Regions from separate parts of the Homo sapiens genome. Here region 1 is linked to region 2. The links are contacts of gene promoters, found by promoter capture Hi-C in human tissues and cell types (Jung and others, 2019). All regions are on one chromosome and are shown on one strand. Each heading gives the region's core, a stretch centred on a gene start or on the middle of the fragment in contact. The rest is flanking DNA. Distances are from core to core; before and after follow the strand shown.

Evidence for each region. Contacts are between HindIII fragments. The study calls those that stand out against the background at their distance.
Region 1: a contact is called between a fragment that was not itself captured here and the fragment with the promoter of PPP1R13L in region 2, in 2 of the 25 tissues and cell types used here (IMR-90 fibroblasts and dorsolateral prefrontal cortex).

The regions. Positions count from the first base shown.
Region 1 is chr19:44,968,413-44,973,269 of GRCh38, forward strand. CLPTM1 (CLPTM1 regulator of GABA type A receptor forward trafficking) reads left to right here. Exons shown (of 14, transcript NM_001294.4): 3 at 4,675-4,798. Among named protein-coding and RNA genes, the nearest start is that of CLPTM1, 15 kb to the left of the region's middle. The HindIII fragment of the contact is 6,156 bases long and covers 1-4,857 here.
Region 2 is chr19:45,401,683-45,406,464 of GRCh38, forward strand. It overlaps PPP1R13L (protein phosphatase 1 regulatory subunit 13 like), which reads right to left and starts at 3,387. Exons shown (of 13, transcript NM_006663.4): 1 at 3,317-3,387. RefSeq lists silencers at 734-983, 1,024-1,113 and enhancers at 3,273-4,068, 4,039-4,238. The HindIII fragment of the contact is 18,212 bases long and covers 1-4,782 here.

The sequences.
Region 1 (4,857 bases), core at 1,166-3,665, 430 kb before region 2:
ATTATACGTCTTTTCATATATTTAAAAATGTTCTGAACCTGTGACTGTAGAATACCTATTTGGGTGGGAGAAAGGATTTAATGTCTGTTTTCTTTGCTTACTCAAGTACATCAGGAAGCATTAGAAAGGTCCAGTCTCCTGCAGGCCTGGGTGCATGGATGAGGGGCCATGGCCATGAGCCCTCTGAGAGGGTCCACAGAACTGTGGGCGTGTGGATACACACAGGACGTTCTTCAGGGGACTGGGGATCTGGAATCCAAAAAGGCCTGGCCTTGTTTTATACATGGGGATCTAGAAGCCCAGAGGGGTTAGGACCCCCACAGCCACACACTAAGCCAGGGGCAGAGCTGCCTGGGGGCATCACTGCTTCTACACTCTCCCCTGGTGTGTTTACTAAAATGAGAGCCTCTGCTGGAGGCATCGGTATCCCCAGAGATTGCCAGGTCCAGACCTTCCCCAGACGTGCATATCAGGGACTTCATGGGGAGGTAGCGATGGCTCAGCTGGACCGTGGCCCCTAAGACCCTGGACCCCAGGGCCTTGTGGCTTCTACAGGCAGAGGCAAGTTCCTGTGCCTGATCCTGCCCCTGATCAGGGCTCAGCAGGGAGGCACCCCACCCACACTAGAATTTACTCATAGTGTTTTTCTGCTCCAAAGTTTTTTGTATGCCTTTTTCCTATGATTAAAATAACAGTAATAGCTAACACTTCTCAGTCACTTACTGGGTATGCACCAGGCTCCATTCTGAGGTACGTGTGCGTGTGTCAGATGTATATACACGCTATATAAACATATATATAATTTAATGTGTTTAATGCTTATAAACTACCCTATGAGAGTAGGCACTGTTATTATCCCCATTTCAACCATTGAAGTTGACCACTGAGGTCACAGTAAGTAGCAGAGCTGGGCTTCAGATGAAGATACTGTAGTTTAGAGGCTGGGCTCATAACCTCTTCTGCTGTATGGTTATCATACCTATAATTAATAAGTACTTGAATCATTTAATCACATGGCTGCATGCAGCTGAGAAACCTCCATTAACACAGTACAGGTTCATTTCTCTCTGATATACCAGTCTGGATGGAGGCAGACTAGGATTCTGCAGTCTTCAGTGACCCAGACTCCTTGCTGTTTGTTGTGCCATTGCTAGGTTTTTCCCTTTATCCTCATAGCCCAAGACAGCTGCTGAAGATTCAGCCATCACATCCACACTCCAGGCAACAGGAGAGAAGAATAAATCAAGAAGGAATATTTCTTCTCTTTAAGGACACTTTTTTTTTTTTTTTTTTGAGATGGAGTCTTACTCTGTCACCCAGACTGGAGTCCAGTGGCATGATCTCGGCTCACTGCGACCTCCACCTCCCAGGTTCAAGCGATTCTTTTGCCTCCGCCTACCAAGTAGCTGGGATTACAGGCGCCCGCCACCACGCCCGGCTAATTTTTGTATTTTTAGTAGAGATGGGGTTTCACCATGTTGGCCAGGTTGGTCTCGAACTCCTGACCTCAAGTGTTGGCTTCCCAAAGTGCTGGGATTATAGGTGTAAGCCACCACGCCCAGCCTCGTTTTGGTTTTGGTATCTGTTGTTGCTGCTGATTCTCGCTCATAATGTCGTTTCCTTTTGTGCCTGGCTTATCTCTGTCTGTGTCCTAGTCATTATACTTGAAAAGTTATTTGTAGGAATTTCAGGGCTAGGATGAGCATATTTTCCTACAGAGAGGATTGCCTTTGCTTCTGCCTGGGGGCATTACCAAGTCCTAGGTTTCCTTGCACCAGGTTCAGGGCTTGAGCTGCCCTTCGTGACTCCTTATCCCACGAGTGGCCTTGCATACTTCGCCCTGCATACCTGTTGTGCAACTCCTGGGAATGGGTAGGCCACCTGGTTCCTTCCTTCTCAGGGGTGGAGGCTTGCACCTTGTGGGGTCTTAGTTTCCTATAGGGTAGGTCTCTGGTTACCTCATATGTTGTATGTGCCCTGGGCTAGCATTTTTTTTTTTTTTTTTGAGACAGGGTCTCACTCTGTTGCCCAGGCTGGAGTGCAGTGGCATGATCGTGGTTCACTGCAGCCTCGACCTCCTGGGCTCAGGTGATTCTCCCACCTCAGCCTCCTGAGTAGCTGGGAATATAGGCATGGTGCGTGCTGCCATGCCTGGCTAATTTTTGTATTTTTTGTAGAAACTGTGTGTTGCCCAGGCTGGTCTCAAACTCCTGGGCTCAAGCAATCCACCTACCTCAGCCTCCCAGCGTGCTGGGGTTACAGGTGTGAGCCACCGCGCCCAGCCTAGGCCAGCATTTTTGTCACCCACCAAAACACCTAGCAGATGTCCTCGGACACATGAAGAAGCTTATAGGGCTCCTTTACTTATTCTTTTTTTTTTTTTCCCCTAGACCTGCAAATCCAAGATCCTTTACTTCTTTTTTTTTTTTTCCTTGAGATGGACTTTTTGCTCTTGTTGCCCAGGCTGGAGTGCCATGGCACGATCTCGGTTCACTGCAACCTCCTTCTCCTGGGTTCAAGCGATTCTCCTGCCCCAGCTTCCCGAATAGCTGGGATTACAGGCATGCACCACCACTCCTGGCTAATTTTTGTATTTTTAGTAGAGATGGGGTTTCACCATGTTGGCCAGGCTGGTCTTGAACTCCTGACCTCAGGTGATCCACCCACCTCGGCCTCCCAAAGTGCTGGGATTACAGGCTTGAGCCACCGCGCCCGGCCGATCCTTTACTACTTTAGGATTCCCACTTTCCCTTCAGTTTTTGCCTGAAGGTTTGGTAACCTACAGTCGTGTCCATTCTTCAGAGCTGTCTATTTATATATATTCATATGTAAACTTGATAAAAATTACATGCATGAGAACAAATACGAGAATACGTGAGCAGCATATATTCTCATTCTATCAATATGTATAATTACAAATATAAAATATATTGATATTTTCTTAGTGTATTAATTTTATCAAGCTTTTCCAATTTTTTCCAGTGAGAGGGTTGGTCTGAATAATTAAGCCCACTGTTACTAAAATTGGAACTAACGTATCACTTACTATCTGCTTCTCCAAAAATTCTCCAAAAGTTCAGAAATGTTGCTCTTTCTAAGCTTCTGTGCCTTCGGTTCTTTTCCTTTTCTTTTTTAAAAAATTTAATTAATTAATTGATTAATTTTTTTGGGACAAGCTCTCTATCTCCCAGGCTGGAGTGCAGTGGCGCAATCACGTCTCACTGCAGCCTTGACCGTCAGGGCTCAAGTGACTCTCTCACCTCAGTCCCCCAAGTAGCTGGGACTACAGGCATGGGCCACCATGCCCAGCTAATTTTTATATTTTTTGTAGAGACGGGATTTCATCATGTTGCCCAGGCTGGTCTCAAACTTTTGAGCTCAAGCAATCCGCCTGCCTCAGCTTCCCAAAGTGCTGGGATTACAAGCATGAGCTGCTACACCTGACCCAATTATACTTTTTTTTTTTTTTTTTTTTTTGAGATGGAGTCTCACTCTGTTGCAAGGCTGGAGGGCAGTGGCGCAATCTCGGCTCACTGCAACCTACGCCTCCCGGGTTCAAGTGATTCTCCTGCCTCAGCCTCCCAAGTAGATGGGACTAGAGGCACGCACCACCAGGCCCAGTTAATTTTTGTATTTTTAGTAGAGACAGGGTTTCACCATGTTGGCCACGATGATCTCGATTTCTTGACCTCGTGATTTGCCCACTTCAGCCTCCCAAAGTTACAGGCATGAGCCACTGTGCCTGGCCTCTATACTTCTTAAGTTATTTTAAAATGTGTAATTAAATTACTATTGACTAGAGTTGCCGTGTTTTGCTACCAAATACTAGATCTCATTCATTCTTTTTTTTTTTGAGATGGAGTCTCGCTCTGTTGCCCAGGCTGGAGTGCAGTGGCGCGATCTTGGCTCACTGCAACCTCTGCCTCCTGGGTTCACACCATTCTCCTGCCTCAGCCTCCGGAGTAGCTGGGACTACAGGCGCCCGCCACCATGCCCAGCTAATTTTTTTGTATTTTTTAGTAGAGACAGGGTTTCACCATGTTAGCCAGGATGGTCTCAATCTCCTGACCTCGTGATCCGCCCGCCTTGGCCTCCCAAAGTGCTGGGATTACAGGCATGAGCCGCCGCGCCCGTCCTCGTTCATTCTATTTTTTGTAGCCATTAACCATCCCCGGTTCTGTGCTTTTGAAGCGCTAGGATTCCAGATTCTTTCTTTTAAAAATTTTATGTTTATTATTTTTTCTTTATTTCTTTTTTCTTTTAATTCATCCATCTGCACACTGAAGGGGTTCCAGATTCTTAGTCTCCTCTCGGGGGATCCCAGGGGGCTGGATGGCAGGTTTCCCAGTCTGAGTCAAGAGTCAGCCCCTGCAGCCCTGTGGTCACCAGGAGCTCCTGCAGGATTTAGAGTCAAGGGTCTGCATGCAGACCAGGGCAGTGCCAGCTACCCCCACACACTGGCAAACGGTGGCATCTGGGCTCCCTCCCCAGATGTGGTCTTTAGGGACATCTTATCTCCTTGCCAGCCCTGTGACTACCTTCTCAGGGCCTCCCTGACTTGGTCACTAGCCCCAGGTCAGGCGCCAGCATGTGCTAAGTCAGAAGGAAGTCAGGCGGGTCTATGGCGGAGAGCCAAGGCTTGGGGACTCACCACCTTGCTGCTTCTCTCCTCAGGATCTTCATCATCTGGGCCATCAGCAGTTGGTTCCGCCGAGGGCCGGCCCCTCAGGACCAGGCGGGCCCCGGAGGAGCTCCACGCGTCGCCAGCCGCAACCTGTTCCCCAAAGACACTTTAATGGTAACTGCCGGGTGGTAGGGCAGACTTGGGAGGTGATGGGGTGTGGAGGGGTGGAATGT
Region 2 (4,782 bases), core at 2,137-4,636:
CCCAGAATTCTGAGTCTTTCTGTACCACATTCTACCTAACCCAGGGTTGCACTGCTCTGGAAGTCTAGATGGATGGTATAGTGCAGCTGGTAAAAGCATGAGTAAGAAGTCAGACTTCAAAAATTCAAATCTGAGGGCCGGGCATGGTAGCTTCTGCCTGTAATCCTTGCACTTTGGGAGGCCGAGGGGGGAGGATCACTTGAGGCCAGGAGTTCAAGACCAACATGGCCAACACAATGAGACCCCATTTCTTAAAAAAAATTAAAATAAAATCATCAAATCTGGCAGCACCACCGTCCAACCCTGACCACAGTACCTCAGTCTCGTAATCCGTAAAATGGGGATGAAAGTTCACCTCATAGGACTACTGTAAGAATCCACCTGGTCAGAAGGTGCAGGAAGAATTCAGAGCTCTGAGAATTGAGGCCTCAGGAAGAAGAGACTACAGGAATAAAAACTCGGGCATTTAGAATTTCAGAGATACACAAACAATACTTTGTTAACTGTTAAAATAGATAAATGAGCAAGTCTGTGCAGCCCTAATGCCAGCTGTAAGTGACTCTTTTTTTTTCTTTTGGTAGAGATTTAGTCTCTCTCGCGCCTGTGGTTAGGCTGGTCTCGAACTCCTAGCCTCATGGGATCCTCCCCGGCTCGATCTCCCAAAGTATTGGGATTACAGGCGTGAGCCACGGCGCCATGATCCCCAAATTTCCAAGATTCTCAGATTCCATACTGACATTCTCTGGCTCTCAGGAAATGCCAACCCTGGGTGTGGGGCTGTCGCGGGGACAGGCGGTGGGGACGTCGGAGCCACCAGGGGGCGGTCACGCCCGGACCCCCGCCAGGAGGGCGGACTGCGCCTGAGCTCAGGCCCGGGGAATGCGCAGCGGGCCCGGGCAGGTGCTGTACATCCCGGGGCAAGGGAGCTGGGCCGGGCGGGGTACAAGGGCGGGGCGCGGGGGTGGCGCGGGCCGTGTGTCTGTTCCCAGGCCTCTGCCCCTGACCTCTGCCTCCGAGTCCTCTCCCATGTGCTCCCCTCTAGCTCTAGCTCCGAGCTCTCCCGCGGGCTCTGGGCCAGCCGCAGGTACTCTCCCCTGGGCTCCTCTCTCCGCTCCACCCCTGGCTCTCCTTCCCTGGCCTCCTCTGCACCCCAGCCAGGTTCTTTAGGGCTAAGGATCCTGTGGACTTCCTGGAGGAGTCATCTTCAGTAGGAACCGGGTCAGAGAGCCAGACTGAGCTGGGAACACCCAGGCTGGACTCCTACAGCCCTGTCGGGTCACACTGAATCTGGAGAGGCTCCACTGTCTCTGGGACTCGGTTTCCTCCTTTGTGGACGTCTATGGAATGGGCTAGGGCCTTTCTTGCTCTAAGCCTCTACTTGGGCTTGTTATTTAGCTTCTCTGTGCCTGTTTCCTCATGTGGACCATGGGAAGAATTAATACCTTCGCCTCAAAGGGGTATGAGGATTGAGTGACATAATTTATAAGCCGTGATTAGAACAATGCAGTGCGCGAAATAAAGTTCACACATACAGGATTCATAATTACCAGATGTCCTTGGCTGTTCATTATAATAACACAGGGTCTGGCAACAGAGTGAGGGGTCCAGACTCAATGTAATTTTTTTTTCCCCTAAAAGGGCCCTTTCAACTCTTTCTGAGATCATACAAGCCCTGAGTTTTGACACCCAGGGTCTCAACTTCCTGAGCCCTTGCCTCTCAGAGTCCTAAATTTCCCCTGTACATTCCTGAGTCTGGCCAGTGATCACCCTCAGTCACTTAGGGACGGGAGGGCTGGGAGAGCCCTGGAAGATTCCAGACAGAAGCTGGCAAAAGCCCAGGGTGTGGGCAATATCCACTCTCCAGCCTCCGTTTCTCCACTCGTAATGAGGAGTCCTTCCCTGGGGTCAGCAAACCTTATTCAAAGGGAGACCTCTCAGTCACCCAAGATTCCTCTAGACAATGCGAGCTTTCCTACCTACCTACCTACCAGCTCTGAGCTTGGTACACCCAGAGCCCTGTTTTGGCAACCACGGTTATTATTTTTAATTTCATTTCAGGTTATCATCAAATGCCCTTCAAGCCCAGACATTGGGAAACACTCCTCTCTCATCAGATGCTCGCCTCCCCCATTCTGTTTTTAATCCCCCTTCTTAGGACGCATGGGGGTGGAGAGAACGGGGAGATAGACAGAGGGAGGTGCCTGGTCCTGCCCTCCCCCCGCCTCAAGGACAGACAGACACCTCCAGAATTAGCCTCTGTCCCTCCCTTATCTCCCACAATACCCCAGGTCAGACAGATGGGCGTGGAGGTGACATTTCTCACCTCAGGGTCAGGGCAAGGAGCCCTGAGGCAGAAGGTTAGTCAGAAAATCTGGCGGGGGCGGATGGAATCCCGTCCCCCAGAGAGCTGCAGAAGAAGGAGGAGGCAGAATCCTGACCCTACAAACTCTACTGCCTGTGTGAGCTCCAAGCCTCAGTTTACCCCTTCCTCTCCGTGTAATGGTTAAATGCCCGGCTATGCAAACCTCCCAGAATCCAATAGCCGCTTTCCGGAATTCTGCCCTGGGTTCTAGAACTACCTCTGCAAACCCAGCTGTTTCCCACCCCATAAGGCAATAGGGGAGCCCACCTCCGCCAGGGGGTGCCCTAGGGCGGATGTCCCTTCTCTGGTTAGGCAGGTCTGACGCCCAGGTTAATGACATGTTGGGTTCGCTCAGCGGCACAGAGGAGGTTGGAGATCTGCCTCGGTGTTTTCTCTCCTACCCCGCCCCCATCCCCGAGCCGAAAAGTCGGGGGAGAGCCGGGACACAGCCTCCGGAGGGACCCCGGGTACCTGTCCTGCTCCACTTCAGGAACCCAGGCTCCACTATCCCTGCCCCACCCTTAATTCTGCTCAGAGACCTAGAAGATCGGTCGAGACAGCAGCTTGAGGCTGGCAGGGTGGTCACCCATTCCACCTTGAGCCCCACCAGTCTGAGCCTCTCATTTCTGACCAAGACTCGGGGATTCGAACCCCTATACTACCCAAAGACTCGGCTTCCTAGAGCCCCCCAGTTCGAGGGACTCAGGAATTCCAGCTCCAACGTCTCCCCGGGATGAAGGGGTAGAATCCCTCCATTCCAAGAATTCAGGCATCCGAACCCGCTTTCCTTCCCTCCAGTAAAACAGGCAACGGAGTTTCCTTCTAAGGATCCAGGTGTCGGCGCGCCCCAAATTCCGCCCTGGGACCTGGCGTCCGAGTCCCCTCCCAATCCTCCCAGGGACGCGGGTGTTGGGCTTTTTCAGGGCCTCTGGTCCCCAGGAGGGTGAAACTCACGGATCCGGGCAGATCCTGGCACCTGGGGGCTTCCTCCAGCTCGGGCTCCGGCTTGGGGAGCGGAGAACGGGGCGGGGCAGGAGCTGGGAACAGGTTAGACGACGTGACTTGGGCTGGAGGGAGGCGGGTCCCGGTGGGGAGGGGGAGCCAAGGTCGCCTCGAGCACCTTGGGACTTGTAGTCCCGGAGGGACAGGACGTAGCCCAAGACGATCCCATTTGGATTCACCCAGAGTCCATTTCACAGACAGGAAGGGCGAGGCCCAGAAGCCGAGAGCGACCAGGCCAGGGAGATACAGAAGAGCCGAGACGCCTGCCTCGCTGTGGCTGGAGACTGACTCCTGAGCCCTTGCCCCACCCCTTCAGGCGCACTATCCCCTTTCCTGATCAGTATCCCCCAGGGTCTCTGAGCCCGAATCTCCCCGTCGATAAAAAGCGCGGGTTGGATCTTCAAAGGATGTCCCAGCAAGAGTTCAAAATCTTAGTTTGGACTACAACCCCCAGCAGCCTCCGCGACCGCCCTCGGGCGACTCTTTGCCTCGGGTCCTGTGGGAATTGTAGTCCTGGAGCCCGCAGGGGCTGCACCCCGGTGTCTCTCTCGCCCACGCGAAGGAAACCGTCTGGAGATCCTGGATAGGGGAAACATTTCCCCTTCCCCTTGACCCTCCCTCCGCTCTGGAAAGCCTCTCCCACCTGGGGAGAAGGGGTGCCCCAATTCTGGAGTAGGATCCTAAATCTTGGCAGAGGGGGCGGGAAGTGGCGCTGACACACTGGCCAGGAATGCAGTCGGGTCACCCTGTCTAGCCACCGTCTCGCGGCTCCAACCGCCGCCCAACGCGGGGCGGCCCCAGTGGGAAGGGAAGTGGGTGCGTCCCCCAAATCTGTGTCCACGTGCCGCTGTTTACACGCTCCCTGGGGCAGGGAGGAGTCGCCGATCAGGTCCCTTCCTGAAAGTCATCGAGGTTTCCCACGCATGAGACTAAACCCCCGAGGGCATCTACAAGTCCCATTTGATCCACAAACGCTACACCGTGCCCAGCACCACTCCACGCGTGTGGGGCTCCTGGGTCCGAGGCTCCGCCCTCGAGAACCACAAGCTCCTCCCCCTATGTTTCCCGCTCCCCCGGAGTCCAGAAGCCCCGCCCCTGGCTGGAACTTCACGCCCTCCGGACGGATTGCCCCTATTTCTCCATTTTCCCGCTTCTCCCAGTCAAGTTCTGAACTTGTGAGGCATCTGGGCCTCCCCAGAAGACATTTAACACAGAAAGCACAGCCCTACTAACTAGTATTCTTACCTGTCTCTTCAAGAATTTCAGACCAATCGACCGTCCTGTCTCTTTAAGGCTTAGGAAGAGCAGTGTGGCTGCCCCTTTAAGGAGGCGTTGCAACAAACCATATTGGACAGACGATGGGGGCGACCCATCGGGACCCGACGGGCCTCTGACTCCAGCAATACAGCGAATCAGCG